Regions from separate parts of the Homo sapiens genome. Here all the other regions are linked to region 1. The links are contacts of gene promoters, found by promoter capture Hi-C in human tissues and cell types (Jung and others, 2019). All regions are on one chromosome and are shown on one strand. Each heading gives the region's core, a stretch centred on a gene start or on the middle of the fragment in contact. The rest is flanking DNA. Distances are from core to core; before and after follow the strand shown.

Region 1 (2,793 bases), core at 208-2,707:
TATTGCTCACACAAAGCCTGTTTGGTGGTCTCTTCACACGGACGCGCGTGACACTCAAGGATACAGTACCAGAACTAGCAGCTTTGTAGTCCAAGGACTGGTAAGGTAAGGTGACAGACTAGCATGGAGCTCACAAGCTGGGCTCCAGAGTCAGACTGCCTGGGTTGAGTTCAGGCTCTTGCACTTTCTAGTAGTGTGACTTTAGACACACTACTTAATCTCTCTATGCCTTGGTTTCCTCAAGTGTAAATCAAGGGCTATCATAATACTTACCTTAAGAGCTATCCTCAGAATTAAATGAGATAACAGTACAAAGTTCATTCAGCATAGTGGTCCCACACAAGATAAGTTTGTATTATTAACATCACATAGACTAATATTTACTGACAACACACACTGAACCCGCTTTGGTTAGCATAGCCAAACTTGGCTAGCTTTCATTACCACTGGAAAACCTGAGAGATGGAATTAGGAATTCTCTGGCAGGGCTGAAAAGTCTGGACCCATCGGCTTAAAGAAACTGATCCACCTCATGACCTGACCCTGGAAGCCTTCTCGCCCTTCACACCTATCTCAACTCCAGACTAGTCAAGAACAAAGGAGTGTAGTGGGGCCCTACTACTGCCAGGCTATGTGAGACTCTCTCATGTTATCTTTTATTCGTTGAGGAGACAGGGTACAAGTGCTTGGTGTGAATGTTGAAGCTGTTGTTAGGGCACCACTTTTCTGGCCTAGGGCTTCTTCCTAATCTGCAGCCTCCGAGCCGAGGGTCTGTGTCCCGGAGGCTCTGCCTGCAATTTCTGGACATCGGGTCCAGGGGAATGAAAGAGGGCATGAGACGCATGCCTCTGAGGCTGGACCCACTTCAGAGGCAGAGCGTCCCCACGAAAGACTCGGGAACCGGAAAAAGCCCTAAGGACGTTCCCTAGTGGCCTTGACCTTGGTGGGTGAGACTCAGTTCGCCATCCTGCTGGCGGCGGGCGATGACACAGCCCCTCAGCCAGGACGAGTATGTGGGCTGAGCGCGAGACGGGGTCTCGGAGGACTGCTAACCCCACTACGGTGGCCTCCTCGGGGCCCCCGTTTCCTCTTGAGCGTGCGGGGGCCTCTGGCCCTACCCGGACACAGTGCACGCGGCGCACTGGCCTTCAGGAGCTGGGGCGGAGGCTGGCCCCGGAACCCCCGGCGGGAGGGTCTGGGCGGTGGGGACGCCTCCATCGGGCGGCTGGCGTGCACGTCGCCGGGGTCACGCGGCCTCCCCGACGGACCCGAGCCTCCCGTGGCGGGGGTGGGGCGGCCACCGCCAGCCCGGCCCTCCCGAACGACCGGGCTCGGCCTCAGCCCCCAGAGCGTCCAGCCGCTGGCCTCACCTCCCTGCGCACGTTCAGCAACGAGTAATAGTCTTCATTGTCCAGCTCCTCCTCGCTCAAGGCCGTCGCCATCTTCGCAACCTTTCACCCCGCCAAACCGGCAAGGCCGTGCTCAAGAGGGGCCAGTGATCCGCGTCAGGGACAGCGCGGGCCAGCCCGGCTGCGCCACAGCGGCCCCTGGCGGCCCGGAGCCGTCCGCGCCCGGCGGGAGTGCGCCTGCGCTTTGCGCCCCCGCGCGGCCTAGGGCGGGACGCGGCGCCTAGGCAGCCCTGGCGGGGTGACCACGCGGGTGTCTCTTCGTGCTCCCAATGGACGCGTGGCACGCGGCGTGGCTGCGTCCTCGGGGGCCTGAGATCCAGCCAGGACTCCCTAGGGCTTTTCCTGTACTAGAAAGGGAAACTTTGCTTTTTTTTTTTTTTTTTGAGACGGAGTCATACTCTGTCGCCCAGCCTGGTGTGTGTGCAGTGGCGCAATCCCGGCTCACTGAAGCCTCCACCTCCCGGGTTCAAGCGATTCTCCTGCCTCAGCCTCCCGAGTAGCTGGGACTCCAGGCGCGCGCCACCACGCCCAGTTAATTTTTTTGTATTTTTGGTAGAGACACGGTTTCACCATGTTGGCCAGGCTGGTCTGAGGCTCCTGAACTCAGGAGATCCTCGGCCTCCCAAAGTGCTGGGATTACAGGCATGAGCCACCGCGTCCTGCCTAGAAAGGGAAACTTTGAAGTCACCTCCAGGAGATTGTCATCCTCTGGGAGACAAACCCCTGTGATACCACCTGTTACCCCACTGGCCCCAAACTCCTGGAAGAAGCGCGAGGTGCCCCCAGTGCAGGGTGCATCCGGATCCTAGATATCCCCCAAATGACATTTGTTCCTACCTCCATTGTCTTTTCTCTTGGCCACCCAGAAGCCTTCCTGCCCAGAACAGGCCTCCTCATTTTAGTTATTTGTTATTGCTCTAATTTAGGAGCACCTGGCCATCTTTTCTGCTGCTTAAATGACAAAGCAATAACTATTTGGTTCCTGATATAATTGTCTCTGGCAGGCATGTGTACCTGCAGTCCCTACCCCAGAGCCATTCTCCTGTAAATTTCTCCCTTATAATTTATCGGTGGAGTCTAATTGATTTCAACCTGGTGCCTGCTGTTTGGTGCATTATTAAAGATGTCTTGGTTACAACAATCTAAATAATTTAAAGGTCTTCGAAATGACGCCATTGTCAAGGGAAGGTGGACAGCAGCCCACTCTTGCCACCTGTTTGGTTCCCGCTGACCTGCGCAAGTCTCAGAAACCTTTGTTGTTCCTTCACTAACCACCAGTCCATAGCCATCCCCGTTGCCCTTCATAAGCAGGTCTCCTGGGAAGCCCCGAACACCTGTCTGTGGATTTGAGAGGCTGATTTCTTTCTCTTTCTAATTTTTGGCC
Region 2 (2,700 bases), core at 175-2,674, 380 kb after region 1:
CTGTTTTATATTCAGGTTTATATCACTGTTCTGGAAGGACTTATAACAACAATCTGTGCTCTTTTAGGCTCTTCTGATTCTTGAACTGAACCTTCAGATCAGCAAGTCTGCATCTTCATCTGGGGGTAGAGGTGAAGGAGGGTTGGTGTTAAGGAAGGCAGAATCGGTATTGAGTCGTCTTCAGACACTCTCTCTCCCTCTCACTTTTTGTTATTTGAGAAAATCTGTATCTCTACGGGCTTACGATAGCCTGTCTCTGAGACAACAATGACACCCTCAAAGTTTTAACCCTGTTTCTTTAGGCTGGCTATGTCCTTCATTGAAAGATTGCTGACCTCTCAAAGAATAAAATAAAAGTCTAAAAATTTATGATGAGACTTTTGCCACTGGCTGTGATGGAATAACTAGGACTAGATTCATCCTCTTGCTACAAACAATGATAAAACTGGATAAAACCTGTGAAATAAATATTTTCAGCTATTAGATGATCGTCAGAGTAGGACTGTGGTTGCTAAGAGAAGACTGTAAACCATACAATCACTTTGTATTTCTGCATGGAGGCATTTCAAGACTGTATCTTCAGGGAGGTATTCCAAGAAGAGTACAGTGATCTTGTTGAGCTGAGGAGACAGATATCAGAGTTTGGAGAGGTTGATACATCTAGAATTTGCAGGGCAGAATATCATACAGGAGAAGGCCTGGCAAAGAAAGTGCTCTAGAAACTTTTATGGCTCTCCTGGGATGTTCTGTTGACTACTAAACCATTGATGAGTGAGGTGAAACCCCACAAAACTGGACAAAGTGCACATAGGGGCTATAAAATTCACAGAGCTCATACAGGACTCGGAGGTATTTGCATTCTGACCAGCCCGACTGGGGAGCTGTCCTTGAATATTTGGGACATTCAGTAGAGACTCCGGAAGGAAGAAGCAATAATAGTAGGGTAACAACATTTCTGGAGTAAAACGTGCTGTAGACCCACCTTTACAGAGATTAAAAATAAGCCTTGAGAGGGTCAGGCTGATCCACAAGTAACTTAAATAACTGCCAGAGTAAAGCCTAAAGCCTAATGCTCTTTAGTTAAAGATATAATTGCTGACAGTTTTCCAAACTTGACAAAAGCTATAAACTCACTGACCTGAGAAGCTCAACACACCCCAAGCAAGGTAAATACAAAGAAACCACAGAATGGCACACACAGTATGATCAGATTTCTTCAAATTAGTGATAAAGATTTTTTTTTTCTTTTTTAAAGACAGAATCTCACTCTGTCATCCAGGCTGGAGTGCAGTGGTCAGTCTTGGCTCACTGCAACCTCCACCTCCCAGGTTCAAGCGATTCTTGTGCCTCAGCCTCCCAAGTAGCTGGAATTACAGGCACACACCATCACGCCTGGCTAATTTTTTTTTTTTTTAAGTAGAAATGGGTTTCACCATGTTGGCCAGGTTGGTCTCAAACTCCTAACCTCAAGCGATCCTCCCACCTCGGCCTCCCAAAGTGCTGGAATTACAGGCATGAGCCACAGTGCCCAGCAAGAAAAAATCTTAAACTCAGCTAGAAGAGGGGAAAAAGACAAATTATAGACAAAGATAAGAATTTTTGCAGACTTCTCATCAGAAATCATGCAAGCTAGAAGACAATGGAATGGGATCTCTTGAGTGCCGAAAGGGGGAACAGTCTGTCAGTGTAAAATTCCGTATAGAGTAAATTATCCTTACATGGTCCTGGAAATTGTTTTACATCTTGAATATGGTGATAGATACATAATACATTTATGTGTTAACATCTACTGGACTTTACATTTAAAATGGGGTACATTTTATTGTATGTAAATTATATCTCCATGATGCTGATTGAAAATAGGTTTTAATCCCTGAAATATGGGATAACACAATTGTAGTAAATGAAGTAATACCTATAGATTCATGGCACACATTAGAGGAAACTGAGGCACAGAGCTATCATGTGACTTCCCCCAAATCATACAACCAAAGGGAGATGGATTAACTTTTTCTATTCTAAAAGAAATGTTTTTTTAATCTCTCAAAATAGGTGGATTCAGGTCTTCTCACAAACTAAAAGGTAGGACATATATTCCTCCAGTGCCTTTCAAACTATGATCTGGCTGGCATCTAGGAAACTTGCTATAAAGACCTCAATACGGCAATTTGATATCTCCTCCCAAATACATGCTGCTTCTCTTTCAGGTATTTTTTCATTCTCCCTCTACCTTTTAGTGTGTTTTCTAGGATTACACATCAGTGAGATTGTAAACATCTTCAGCACTGTGGATTTATTATTATTATTATTATTTGAGACAGAGTTTTGCTCTGTCACTCAGGCTGGAGTGTAATGGCACGATCTTGGCTCACTGCAACCTCTGCCTTCCAGGTTCAAGCGATTCTCCTGCCTCAGCCTCCCAAATAGCTGGGATTACAGGTGACCACCACCATGCCAGGCTAATTTTTGTATTTTTAATAGAGATGGGGTTTCACCATGTTGGCCAGGCTGGTGGATTATTCTTATATCAGTCAGGATCCTCTCAGGAGACAGAAGCATGTTTGGTTATTTGAACAGAAAATTTAATATATAAAGACTTTCTAGCTAGTAGAAGGGTGGTTGATTACTAATGGAGATAAAAGAGAATTCTAAGTGTTTCCAAAATATCAGGGGTAAAGCAGCAGCTGCTATCTCTAGGCT
Region 3 (2,700 bases), core at 19-2,518, 360 kb after region 1:
AGAGGCTGGAGTAGGGGCAGTGGCAGCAGAGCAGGGGGTGGCGCTGGCAGAGGAGGGAGCTGGGAAGAAGAGCAGGACTCCCTTGGGGCTGGTGTTTGGTGCCAAAGGCCATGAAGAGTGAGCAGAGGGCTTTAATTTGACGGTGTATGAGGTCCTATTATATTAAATTTTATTTTTTTGAGACCGAGTTTTGTTCTTTCATCCAGGCTGGAGTGAAGTGGCACGATTTTGGCTCACTGCAACCTCCGCCTACCGGGTTCAAGTGATTCTCCTGCCTCAGCCTCCCGAGTAGCTGGGATTATAGGCGCCCGCCACCACGCACGGCTAATTTTTGTATTTTTAGTAGAGACGGGGTTTTGCCATGTTGACCAGGCTGGTCTCGAACTCCTGACCTCAGGCGATCCACCCGCCATGGCCTCCCAAAGTGCTGGGATTACAGACGTGAGTCACCGCCCCCGGCGGTCCCATTATATTTTTAAAGTATATATATTGATTTATATTCCACCTTTGTCTAGAATGGGTTTAGATTCCTGAGACATAGATAATATTGTGTCATGAGTTATATATTTAGGGTAAATTATAAGGAAACATAGATTACAGTCAGCTAATGTAAAAGTTTTTAGTGTAAAAAGTGAGCAAGAAGAAGATAGAATGAGGCAGGATCAAAACACAGAATGAGTGACAGGGAATGGGCTGCCCAGCCCGGGGGTGAGTCTCGAGCGGCCGGTGCCAAGAAGGTTGCACAATGGCTGGGCGCCGGGGAGAGGTGTGGAGAAAGGGGCTGAGGGCTTACACGGACAGGCACAGGCTCCACCGAGCAGCCGCGCTAAGGAGCTGTGGGGTGGGGAGCCGTGGGCCCGGGTGTGGGGGCTGCAGAAGACGGAGGGTTGCAGGGCGTTCGTTTACTGCCGTCTGCCTCAGCCATGAAGTCCCATAAATTGGGTGGCTTTACCCAACAGAAATGCACCCTCTCATAGTTCCCGAGGCCCGACCTCCAAGTCCAGGTACCGGCAGGGCCAGGCTTCCGCTGGGGCTCCAGGCGGATCCTTCCTCGCCCCTCCTAGCGTCTGCTATTCACTGCCTGCAGCTGCTTCACTCCCGTCCCTGCTCCATCTTCACGCGGCCTCCCCCAACCTGTGCGTCTCTGTTTTCACGTGGCCTTCTTGCAGAGACGTCAATCACATTGGATTGGGGCCCATCCTACTCCGTTATGACTTCATCTTAACTAGATGACATCGCAAAGCTCCTATTTCCAAATAAGGGCACATGCGTGGGTACAGGGGTTAGGACTTCAACATATCTTTTTGGGGAACACGGATTCATTTTTCTCACTTCCCTAACAAAATATAAACTGCAGGAGGCAGAAAACGTCGCCGACTTACTCACCATTGTGTTCCCAGCATCTCTGGCAGGATGCTGATCGGATAACCAGTGCCCGAAAAAATGTGGTTGTTGAATTTGCTCCCACTTTCTTCACCCCCTAACATCAGGTCAAATCCGGCCTAGAATTCCTAGTGGAAAGACAGGGACGACTCTTCCGCAACACCTCTCAGACCCGTCAGTGTGCTGAGGCGCAGCTTCCCAGAGGGAGGTGTCATCTGCAGCGCTTTGCTTACCCGTTTGACCACGACACCACCGCACCTCCCTGCCCTTTATCTTAGCAGGGCATCTCTGGAGAGAATGTTCCACGGAGCACACCTCGGGAAACACTAGTTTAGCTGCATTGCAGATTGGAGGCAGGGGCAGACTACCTTCTAGACAGAACTTTCCAACTCTTGAAAGATTTCTTCTGAAGAATTATGGCTATATCTCCTCCCCTGTAGCCTCCCCTGCTCTGCCCTCTGCTTTTGGTCTTAAAGCTATTTTAGATCTGAAATACCTTCCCTGGACCTACCATTTGCATTTGGACTTAGATTATTAGACATTTTCTTCTTATAAAAATCAGCAAGTTGTACCTACAAAGTGGGAGCAAATTCAACAACCACACTTTTTCAGGCACTGGTTGTGCGATTAGCATCCTGCCAGGGATGCTGGGAACACAGTGGTGAATAAGTTGGGGACATTTTCTGCCTCCTGAAGTTCATATTTTGTTGGGGGAGAGAGAAAAATAAATTCATGTACTAGTCTGCTCAGGCTGCTGTAACAAAATACCATAGACTGGGTGGCTTTAACAGAAGACATTGATTTCTAACAGTTCTGGAGGCTGGGAAGTCCAAGATTAAGGCACTGGCAGATTCGATTCCTGATGATGGCTCTGGCCTGGCTGCCAGGTGGCTGCCTTCTCATATGGTGGGAGCCTTTGCCTTCACCTTCTCCTCCTCCTCCTCCTCCTTCTTCTCCTCCTTCTCTCCTTCCCTCCTCCTCCTTCTTCTTCTCCTCCTCCTCCTTCTCTTCTTCCCTCCTCCTCCTCTTCCTTCTTCTTCTCCTCCTCCTCCTCTTCTTTCTCCCCTTTCCTCCTGCTCCTCCTCCTGCTCCTTCCTCTTGTTCTTGTTCTTTTCTTCCTCTTGTTCTCTCTCTCTCACTCTCTCCCTCCCTCCCTCTCTCCTTATGAAGCCATTAATATAATCATGAGGACACCTACCTTCATGACTTGTCTCATATTAATTAGCTTCTGAAGATCTCACCTCCAAATACCATAGCATTGGGGGTTGGGGCTTCAACCTATTAATTTTGGGGAAATACAATTCAGTCCATAGCAGT
Region 4 (2,700 bases), core at 47-2,546, 470 kb before region 1:
TATGAACAGTATTGAAATAATAAGATAGAAAACAGGATTTTGTAAACAGTAAGTGTAAGTATTATATCAGGAAAGACATGTTCCTTTCATACACACACAAGTGCTGGAGCACAATGTAAAAAAAATCTATGGGCAAAAAGGTATGGAAAACCCTTTGGTTCTAGTGCACACACATATACAGGAAGCAAGCATTTATGGCAAATTACATTATTCAGTCATAACTAATTTGTTCCCAGGGAAGGTGATTGTTAATGTGGCGGTTTTACATGTTTCAGAAACAAAAATTGTAAATGCTATGTGATCATTTGCCCCACCTATACCGTTAGGGGTCACCAGAGTCACCAAGGACCATGCATTGCTGATGGGATGCCTGAGAGATCTCTGGATTTGCCCAAAGACTTGGAGACTTTTCCCAAACACTTCGTGAATTTTCCAAGATCTATTCACATTCTTTGGCCAAGTTTTTCTAGGACCAAGAGTAAAGAATCAAGAAACAGTTTCAAGAAATAAGGCGGCCAGGCGCGATGGCTCACGCCTGTAATCCCAGCACTTTGGGAGACTGAGGCAAGTGGATCATGAGGTCAGGAGATTGAGATCATCCTGGCTAACACAGTGAAACCCCGTCTCTACTAAAAATACAAAAAATTTAGCCAGGCATGGTGGCGGGCGCCTGTAGTCCCAGCTACTCAGGAGGCTGAGGCAGGAGAATGGCGTGAACCCAGGAGGCGGAGCTTGCAGTGAGCCGAGATTGCGCCACTGCACTCCAGCCTGGGCGACAGAGCGAGACTCTGTCTCAAAAAGAAAAAAAAAAGAAATAAGGCTTTGGGTTGGGCATGGTGGATCATGCCTGTAATCCCAGCATTTTGAGAGGCTGCAGTGAGAGGACTGCTTGAGCCCAGGAGTTCAAAATCTGCCTGGGCAACACTAAGACCCCATCTCTACAAAAAACAAAAAGTTAGCTGGGCATGGTGGTGCACACTTATAGTCCCAGCTACTCAGGAGACAAAAGCAGAAGGTCTGCTGGAACCCAGGAGTTTGAGACTAGCTTGGGCAACACAGCGAGATCTCATCTTTAATACACAAATAAATAATTTTGTTTTCTGTTTTTAAGACAGGGTCTCACTCTGTTGCCCAGACTGGAGTACAGCAGCAATCAAAGCGATCCTCCTGCCTCAGCCTCCTGAGTAGCTGGGACTACAGGTGCACACTACAACTTCCAGATATATTTTTAGTTTTTTCCTCTGGAGAGAAGGGTTCTCACTATGTTGGCCAAGCTGGTTTCTTTTTCTTTTTTTTTTTTGAGATGGAGTCTCGCTCTGTCGCCCAGGCTGGAGTACGGTGGCGCGATCTCGGCTCACTGCAAGCTCCGCCTCCCGGGTTCACGCCATTCTCCTGCCTCAGCCTCCCAAGTAGCTGGGACTACAGATGCGTGCCACCACACCAGGCTAATTGTTTGTATTTTTAGTAGAGATGAGGCTTCACTGTGTTAGCCAGGATGGTCTTGATCTCCTGACCTCATGATCTGCCTGCCTCAGCCTCCCAAAGTGCTGGGATTACAGGCATGAGCCACCATGCCCGGCCAGCCAAGCTGGTTTCTAATTCCTGGCCTCAAGCAATCCTCCTGCTCTGGTCTCCCAAAGCCACTGTGCCTAGCCAAATAGTAATTTTAAAAAAGAAATATGCGGGTTGGATGCAGTGGCTCACGCCTGTAATCCCAGCACTTTGGGAGGCTGAAGCGGGTGGATCATCTGAGGTCAGGAGTTTGAGAACCGCCTGGCCAACACAGTGAAACCCCTACTAAACCTACTAAAAATACAAAAAATTAGCTGGGCGAGGTAGTGCACAACTGTAATCCCAGCTACTCGCGGGGGCTGAGGCAGGAGACTCACTTGAACCCGGGAGGTGGAGGTTGCAGTGAGCCAAGATCGCACCACTGCACTCCAGCCTGGGCGACAAAGTGAGACTCTGTCTCAAAAAAAAAAAAGAAAGAAAAAGAAATACATGTGGTGGCTCACGCCTGTAATCCCAGCACTTTGAGAGGCCGAGGCGGGTAGATCACTCAACCGCAGGAGTTCGAGGCCAGCCTAGGCAACATGGAAAAACCCCGTCTCTACAAAAATACAAAAATTAGCCAGGGGCTGGGCATGGTGGCTCATGTCTGTAATCCCAACGCTTTGGGAGGCCAAGGCAGGCAGATCACCTGAGGTTGGGAGTTCGAGAACAGCCTGACCAACATGGAGAAACCCCGTCTCTACTAAAAATACAAAATTAGCCGGGTATGGTGGCGCATGCCTGTAATCCCAGCTACTCAGGAGGCTGAGGCAGGAGAATCGCTTGAACCCGGGAGGCAGAGGTTGCAGTGAGCTGAGATCACATGATTGCACTCCAGCCTGGGCAACAAGAGTGAAACTCCATCTCAAAAAAATAAATTAATTAAAAAATACAAAAATTAGCCAGGTGTGATGACACACATCTGTAGTTTCAGCTACTTAGAAGGCTGAGGCAGGAGAATCACTCAAACCCGGGAGGCGGAGGTTGCAATGAGCCGAGATTGTGACACCGCACTCCAGCCTGGGCAGATACTTAGGAGACTAAGGTGGGAGGATCACTTGAGCCCAAGAGGTAGAGGCTGCAGTAAACCATGATCATGCCAATGCACTATAGCCTGGGTGAGAGACCCTGCCTCAAAACAAAACAAAA
Region 5 (2,700 bases), core at 108-2,607, 500 kb after region 1:
AAAACACAGTTATTGCGTACCTGGCCCCATCCTCCCCAGAGCTAACCACTGTCATGAATGTTTATACACCTTTGCTGCATGTGTATATAGATGAGGATAATTTTCTTTCATCTGCTTTAGAACTTTATATAAATGACATTGTACTGCAAGCATGCTTTTTTAATTAAAATTTTTATTTGAAACAATTTCAGAAAGTTGAAAAGTTTTTTAAAACATACAAGTACCATTTGTATATCATTCGCCAGATTTCATAGTTGTTCACATTTCACTATATATACTTAATTATTCTCTGTGTATGTGGGTGTGTGTATATATATGAAGTGGTGTACATATGTAACATTTTAACACTCTTTTGAAATATTTGAGAATAGATTGAAGACATGAAGCTTCTTACCTCTAAATATTTCACTGTGTGTTTAAGACCAAGGACATTCTTGTACATAACCACGTCTTATACATAACCACAGTACAAATATCAAAGTCAGGAAATTAACATCAATGTGATACTATTATTATTTTATCCTCATCCCTTACAGAAATTTCAACAATTGTCCCAGTAATGTTCTTTATAGCAAATGAAAAACAAATGGTTGTTTGAGTTTTGGTCCTGGATTCAATCTGGGATCATGGGGCGCATTTAGTTCCAGTTTCTTAATCTGGAAGAGTTCTGCCGTCTTTCTTTTTCTTTCTTGAATCGGACATTTTTGACGAGTACAGGCCTGCTATTTTGCAGCATGTCCCTCAGTTCTGGTTTGTCTGAGGTTCCGCATAGATTAGATTACACAGTGTTGTCCAAAATACTACGGAAGCCATGTTATGTCCTTCTCAGTACCTCATATCAGGAGATTTGCGCATTGCTGGTTGGTGTTAACTCATTGCTTGATTAAGGTGGTTGCCTGCCAGGTTTCTCTACTGGAAAGTACTGTTTATTTTTTCTAATTAATAAGTATCTCATGAGGTGGTACTTGGGGACTGTGTGAATATCTTGTTTCTCATCAGGCTTAAAAATTTTGAAAAACAGCTTTATTGTGATGTAATTCACGTGCTGTACAAGTCACCATTTAGAGTGTACAATTCAAAGGTTTTTAGTATATTCACATAAATGTGCCCCCATTGATTTTAAACATTTTCAAAACCTCCAGAAGAAATGCCATGTTATGTAGCCATCACTTCACTATCTCCCCATCCACACTCCCCACCGCCAGCCCTCTGCAAACATTAATCCACTTAGAGTCTCTATAGCTTTCTCTGTTCTGGACCTTTGTAAGAATGAAATCGTATAATATGTGGCCTTTGGTAACTGTCTTCTTTCATTTAGCATCATGTTTTTAAGGTTCATCCACATTGTAGCATGCAGCAGTGCTTCATTCTTTTTTATGGCTGAATAATATTTCATTATATGGATATAACTCATTTGGCTTCATTATATGGATATAACTCATTTGGCTATTATTAACCATGATGCTATAAACATTTGTGCACATGTTTTTGTGTAGACATATTTTTTTTCATTTCTTTTTTGGGTATCCACCTGAGTAAAATTGCTGGGTCACATGGTAACTCTGTGTTTCATTACTTGAGGAACTGTTAGACCTAGACCATTTTCCACAGTGGCCACACCAATTTACATTCTTACCAGCAGGGTATGAGGGTTCCAGTTTCTCTGTCAACACTTGTTATTATCTGACTTTCAGATTCTCATCTTCCTCCTGGGTATTAAAGTGTCATCTCTTTATGGTTTTGATGTGAATCTCCCTGATAGCTAATAATATCAAGTGTCTTTGTGTGTATATTTGTATATTTTCCATTTGTATTTCTTCCTTAGAGAAATGTCTATTCAGAGGCTTTGCCTATTTTTAAATTGGGTTACCTGTCCTTTTTATTATTAAGTTGTAAGAGTTCTTTATATATTCTAGACATAAGTTCTTTATCAGATATATAATTTGCAAATATTTTATCCTATTCTTCCACAGTTTCAATTTTTTTGGTGTCCTTTGAAGCACAAAAGTTCTGTGTTCTGAAGAAGCCCCATGTGTCTATTTTTTATTTTGTTGTTCATGCTTTTGATGTCATATCTAAAAAATGCTTTGCCAATCCAAGGCCGTGAATGTTTATACCTATGTTTTCTTTTAAGAATTTTAGTTTTAACTCTTTCATTTAGCTCTTTGATCCATCTGTTTTGAGTTTATTTTTGTATATGGTGTGAGATAAGGATTCAATTTCATTCTTTTGCATGTGACTAGCTAGTTGTCCCAGCTTCATTTGTTGAAAAGACTATTTTTTTCCCAGTTGAATGGTTTTGGTGCCATTGTCAAAAGTCAATTGATGACAGCTGTATGGGTTTATTTCTAGGCTGTCATTTCTATTCTATTGATCTGTACGTCTCCTTTGTGCTAGTACCACATTGTCTTGATTACCATTGCTTTGTAGTAAATTTTGAATTCAGAAAGTGTGAATCCTCCTACTTTGTTCTTTTCTTAGTATTGTTTTGGCTATTCTGTGTCTCTTACAGTTTCATATGAATTTTAGAATCAGCTTGACAATATCTACAAAGAAGTCAGCTGGAATTCTCACAGAGATTGAATTGACTCTGTAGAGCAGTTTGGAGAGTACTGATATCTTAACGATGTTAAGTTTTCTGACCCATGAACATTGAAGTTTTTCCATTTATTTAGGTCTTTTTAAATTTGTTTCAACCAT

The links. Contacts are between HindIII fragments. The study calls those that stand out against the background at their distance.
Region 2: a fragment that was not itself captured here is called in contact with the fragment with the promoter of DNAJC11 in region 1 in 1 of the 25 tissues and cell types used here (lymphoblastoid cells).
Region 3: a contact is called between a fragment that was not itself captured here and the fragment with the promoter of DNAJC11 in region 1, in 1 of the 25 tissues and cell types used here (lymphoblastoid cells).
Region 4: a fragment that was not itself captured here is called in contact with the fragment with the promoter of DNAJC11 in region 1 in 1 of the 25 tissues and cell types used here (liver).
Region 5: a fragment that was not itself captured here is called in contact with the fragment with the promoter of DNAJC11 in region 1 in 3 of the 25 tissues and cell types used here (hippocampus, liver and mesendoderm cells).

The regions. Positions count from the first base shown.
Region 1 is chr1:6,700,359-6,703,151 of GRCh38, forward strand. It overlaps DNAJC11 (DnaJ heat shock protein family (Hsp40) member C11), which reads right to left and starts at 1,458. Exons shown (of 16, transcript NM_018198.4): 1 at 1,371-1,458. The coding sequence starts at 1,442. RefSeq lists a silencer at 1,245-1,694. The HindIII fragment of the contact is 19,207 bases long and covers 1-2,793 here.
Region 2 is chr1:7,078,239-7,080,938 of GRCh38, forward strand. The region is part of intron 3 of CAMTA1 (calmodulin binding transcription activator 1); the gene reads left to right. Among named protein-coding and RNA genes, the nearest start is that of CAMTA1-AS3, 65 kb to the left of the region's middle. The HindIII fragment of the contact is 6,035 bases long and covers 1-2,700 here.
Region 3 is chr1:7,061,757-7,064,456 of GRCh38, forward strand. All of the region lies in intron 3 of CAMTA1 (calmodulin binding transcription activator 1), which reads left to right. Among named protein-coding and RNA genes, the nearest start is that of CAMTA1-AS3, 49 kb to the left of the region's middle. The HindIII fragment of the contact is 9,615 bases long and covers 1-2,700 here.
Region 4 is chr1:6,227,061-6,229,760 of GRCh38, forward strand. The region is part of intron 4 of ICMT (isoprenylcysteine carboxyl methyltransferase); the gene reads right to left. Among named protein-coding and RNA genes, the nearest start is that of ICMT, 7.6 kb to the right of the region's middle. The HindIII fragment of the contact is 6,595 bases long and covers 1-2,700 here.
Region 5 is chr1:7,199,868-7,202,567 of GRCh38, forward strand. All of the region lies in intron 4 of CAMTA1 (calmodulin binding transcription activator 1), which reads left to right. Among named protein-coding and RNA genes, the nearest start is that of CAMTA1-IT1, 160 kb to the right of the region's middle. The HindIII fragment of the contact is 8,532 bases long and covers 1-2,700 here.